Linked DNA regions of Homo sapiens: region 2 is linked to region 1. The links are contacts of gene promoters, found by promoter capture Hi-C in human tissues and cell types (Jung and others, 2019). All regions are on one chromosome and are shown on one strand. Each heading gives the region's core, a stretch centred on a gene start or on the middle of the fragment in contact. The rest is flanking DNA. Distances are from core to core; before and after follow the strand shown.

Region 1 (2,512 bases), core at 5-2,504:
GCTCTCCGAGCGCTCGCTGGGCCTCTTCTCTCCCCACGTCCGAGCGCTCGCTGGGCCTCTTTCCTCCCCACCTGCGCGTGGCTGTGCGGAGCCGGTAGCTCTGCTCTGCCCGTGCCCCCGCCCCCACCCCGCGATCACAGCCCCCACCTTGGTGTCCCCTACTCCCCGCCGCAGTCCTCCCGCCGCGCAGCGCCGCGCCGGAGAGCATGGCCGAGCGCACAGCGCCCACTACCGCAGCCGCGGCTCGGCGCAGTCCACCCGCCCGCCCGCGCAACTTCCAGCGGCCGCCTCGCAACTTTTCCCAAGTCCACCACAGCCGCCCGCCGCCGCCGCCACTGTGGCTCCCTCTGAGCCGCCTACCCTACCCAAACCCCAGAAACAAACCGAGGCTCGAAAAGGCTCCCTTCTCCTGCCGGCCCCCCATCCCCCGCGCCCCCCTCCTCCCACACCCGGGACTAGCTGGTTGGCCAGAGGCAACTCTCCCCCGCCTGGGGGGAAGGGGAGGGGAGGGGGAGACTTTCTCCTCTTCTCTTCCCCCCCACCCCACCCCTTCGCGCTCACTCTCGCGCTCTCTCCTCCCTCCCACCCCTAGTCTTTGCTGCCCCCACCCCCACCCCCACCCCGGGGTTGCCACAGCTGGTCGGTGCGCGGGACTGAGGGCTGCCCAGGCTCCTCCGGCGCCCAACCCGGGAGCGAGAGCGCGGGCGACCGGGAGCAGAGACTGGAACCGGCAGGTTGCTGGGGCTGCGCTCCGCCTGCCCTCCACCCGGGGCCCCGGCGCAAGAGGCAGCCCGCGCTCCCTCCCGGAGCGCTAGAGACAGATATGCAAGATGGCAGAGGAGGGGGAAAAGCCAATAGAAAAGGGATATTGCACCTACTTGTGGCCAGTTTCCTTGCCCTGCCTTTGGATCTCATGCTGTGCCCAGTCCTGCAGCCGCTGGTGTGTGGTTGGGGCTTTTTTTTCTTGGATCCTTTCCTTCTTTTGCTCTCCCTCTCGCTCCCTCCCTCTCTCTCCTGTCTCTCTCTCTCTCTCTCTCTCTCTCTCTCTCTCTCTCTCTCTCTCTCTCTCTCTCCCTCCCTCCTGTTTCTCTCCTGTTTCTCTCTCTCTTCCACACACTCACTCTCTGTATTTTCTTCTTTCACTCTCTCTCCCTCCCTCTCTCCCTTTCTCTCAATCCACACTCGCTATCTCTCCAGCATTGTCAGTTTGGACACCTTCGCACATGCGCGCTAGACGCCCCTCCAACATCTCAGCGCCGCCAAAAAAAGTTTGGAGCGATTTATCACTTTGATTTGGAGATCTTGTCAGATGGCAATCGCCGAGGAGGCGGAGAAAGGGAGCCGCGGGGAGGGCGGCGGGGGGCGGGGAGCGAACGCAGGGAGCCAGAGGGGAGCAGACACCTCGCCCAAAAAAAGGGGAGGGGGGAATTGAAAAGGCTTGGGCAGAGGATTGATTCCATGTTAGAATCGCCAACAAGCTTGTATCATGATTATTGTTATTGTTTTTCCCACCATAAATTGCAGACATTTTTCTATACCATCTACGAGGGAAGCAAGAAGCCAGGGGGGAAAAAAACTTTAAAAACATTTTTTAAAAACCCTTCTCCTGTTAAAGAACTAGAAGGGCTGGACCCTCGGCTAATAATCCAGGAGAAAGTGAGAATCATCCTGAACTTGAGAAATCTACTGCTGCCGCTGCTACTGCTACTGAAGCTATTGCAGCTTCCGCTTTCAGGGTTGTAAGCAGAATAAATAACTGGTTTTTTCCTCGATTTTAGCTGTAATACCAATGCTTGCTGCCATCCTTGGGACATTTCAGTATTCTTTCCCTACCAAGTAGTAATGATCACCCTTGATTCCCGGGTCCGGGCCGGCGCTGGCATTTGACATCCAAAGACCTCCTGCTTTCTCAGAGGTCGGCTGTCACCTTCCGGCCTCCCCCACTGCTGCCCCGGTCGCCTCCCGATGCAGCTCTGCTTGCCTGCCATTTTCACTCACTCGCTTAAACCTACAACCTCGGGGTCAAAAGAAAGAGGAGTAGGGAGGAAAATCACACACTCTTAAAAAAATACATTGTTGAAATTTCCTTTAATTACAGGATTTACCAATGAAGTGCCACTCAGAAATGGGAATTCCTAAAGGGGCTAGCTGTGTACAAGGTATGAATCAATCCCAACTAGGTATAGATTTTCTTTTGGTACAACCTTCTTGCATTAAACAGTTTTGTTCAATACCTTCCATGTGCTATTTATGTCCCCATTAATATCTGTTGCAAATCCTGCCAGACACCATAAAAGAAAATTACAATCTTTTCAGTCTCCGTGCTGCAACAATACATCCTTGATGTTCAAGTTAAAGGAAAAGAAAAGCAGGTCCTGGGCATGAGTTTGGCAAAGGCTGTGGAGGGAAAGGGGAATCATTGAGAATGCCCAGTCGTACCTGTTGGTATTTATTATCAAATCTAGGACTGCAGACATGAGAGAGCAAATAACAAGGTTCAACCCCAAAGGGT
Region 2 (2,512 bases), core at 8-2,507, 260 kb before region 1:
TGACCCACTTAGCATTGTTTCTCTGGGCTAAGGTAAAATCATCTCCAAGAGTTCTGACCATTAATCGTTTATTCATTTCCATTTACATTTAAAAACCTACTATGGACTACACAGACACTGAATGTGGACTTTGGAAACCAAAATACCTGGCCTCATTCTTGGCTTCACAGAGCAACATTTCAGTAGAGAAGGAAGACATGCAAACAAAACATAGTACCCACGATCAACGAACTATGTCCAAGGTTCAGTGGAGAGAGGGAATTAATTCTGTCTTAGGGTAGAAATGGCTAGGGAAGGCTGTCAAGAAGTGGCCACACCCAAGAAGGGAAGAATAAGCTGAAGAAGAAAGGTGGCTTTGAAGGTGTTTCCCAGAGAAAAGATGAGGGAAAAAAAGACCCTACTAGAAAGAAGAGAGGACATATCTAAAGGTATGAAAAGTATGAAAGAGCTTAGCATGTGCATGAGACTAAGCATTCCTCAGTATTGTCTGACTTATAGTGAGAAATAGAGTAGGTGCACATGCAGAGAAAGAGGCAGTGAGGATCCAAACAATCAAAGGATTCATGCCATACCCTAGAGCTTGGCCTTCCTCCTATTGTCAATATGGAAAATGGAAAGATCAGAACTGGATATTAGCATGATCACTCTGATTCAAAAAAGAGGAGAAATTTAAAATTGGCAGAAAGCAGATGGACCAGTCAGAGGCTGTTTCAGTAGTCCATGACAGAAATCATGAGAGCTTAAAAAAGGGGCTGTGATGCTGGAGGATGAAGAATAACAGGGAGAGATTTAGGAAGTAAAGAGAGTCCAATAAGGGAGTGGAACGGGGATAAAATAAACTTCAATGAGCTCATATACTATGTCATGAGTTAATTTATCAGTGATAGGTAAAGTTGGCCACTCCCAGGAACTGGGACACATATGGGGGCTGAGGACACAGATAGAGAGAAGATTGGAATACTGAACAACGAAGTGATTAGAATACTGAACAATGAATCAGGAGCCCTGAGCCCCTGGGAGGCAATCATAGAGCCCTGGGCCATCTAGACAGTAATGAGGCTGCAGAACCAACAGGCTTTTCCCTTGCTTGAAGGAAACCTGGAGATCAGAAGATCAGCATGGGGATGGTAGGAAAAAAATTTCATTCTTACATGTACAAATAGAAAAAATAACACAAAAATTAGCTGGGCATGATGGCGCATGCCTATAATCCCAGCTACTCAGGAAGCTGAGGCAGGAGAATCGCTTGAACCCTGGAGACAGAGGTTGCAGTGAGCCAAGATTGCACCATTGCACTCCAGCCTGGGCAACAGAATGAGACTCTGTCTCAAAAAAAAAAGAAAACCAGGTAAGACATTAGAGGACACCTTCACTAGATCGTGCAGACTCTTAAGGAATGTTGATTCCCTAACAAACTTCATGCTTGACATTAGTAGCTGTGCCTTTATATTGATCACCCTTATGTTCCTACACTTTACGATGTTCAATATTCTTTGGCAATCCTAACTCAGGTACTGCCTTCACAAAGTGTTTGCCAGGTACACACCCCTTTCCTTGCTCAGTGTTGCCTGAAGTGGTATTCCTCAGGAAAGGCTCCAAAACCACTCCTGACCTCAGCAGTTTTGATAGGCACTTATTAAGCAAAATTCAACTTACATGTTATTTATTCCTACTGTTGAGAACTTTGAGAGAAAAAAAGTGGCTTAATGTCAAGAAAAGTAATTTGTTAAGATGATTTTTAAAACTCATTCAGTGCATATGCAGGAAATCCTGCAAAATCAACATTCTCTATACAGCGTTCTTCCCTGCTTATCCTCCCATCCCAGAACTCTAAATCCCCAGAGCACAGTACTGGGTGGCTCCCCAGCCCACAGGTCCCTCAGCCTATGTGCCTTCTTCCCCAAAGGAGATCTGATCCTTCCCCAAATTAATGTTTTGTATTATTTACTTGTGTATTTTCTTGATGGAAAAAATATAGAAAAGGGAAAACAGACAGAGGGTAGAAGTTGGGTTTTATTTATTATGGTTTAACATTATTTATGATTATTGTAATTTAGGTCCAACATCCCAAGAGTCTCATTGTAATGGGTGCAATAGACACCAATAAAATAGTGTCACAGAGCACATACATATATTCTTCTACTTCCTTTTTTTACAAGACGTATTTTCTCTATGCACACAAAGCAAATCCTGTCAAATTGCAATATACTTCTAGGCATTCTGTTTTGGATTTTCATTTTAAGAAATATAAAAGGAAGAATGAACTGCAAGACACTTATTTATTTTATGGACTTATTTGCACCATCGAAAAGAGAATGACGATAAATCCCTTTTAGGGAGGGCTTGTGTTTACCACTTCATAGCCATTGAAAGTAAATAAAATAATATGGAATAAAATAAAAACAAGATGGCAGGGGCTCTATATTAATAAGCCCAAGTGATTAAAACACAGATCAAACAATAAGCTTCTTTTCTATTTTGGGTTTTGAAATTTAGTAATTCTATTAACCCT

Evidence for each region. Contacts are between HindIII fragments. The study calls those that stand out against the background at their distance.
Region 2: a contact is called between a fragment that was not itself captured here and the fragment with the promoter of MECOM in region 1, in 1 of the 25 tissues and cell types used here (aorta).

What each region holds. Positions count from the first base shown.
Region 1 is chr3:169,662,458-169,664,969 of GRCh38, forward strand. MECOM (MDS1 and EVI1 complex locus) reads right to left here and starts at 1,255. Exons shown (of 17, transcript NM_004991.4): 1 at 879-1,255. The coding sequence starts at 915. RefSeq lists a silencer at 147-246. The HindIII fragment of the contact is 10,305 bases long and covers 1-2,512 here.
Region 2 is chr3:169,401,327-169,403,838 of GRCh38, forward strand. The region is part of intron 1 of MECOM (MDS1 and EVI1 complex locus); the gene reads right to left. Among named protein-coding and RNA genes, the nearest start is that of MECOM-AS1, 45 kb to the right of the region's middle. The HindIII fragment of the contact is 6,018 bases long and covers 1-2,512 here.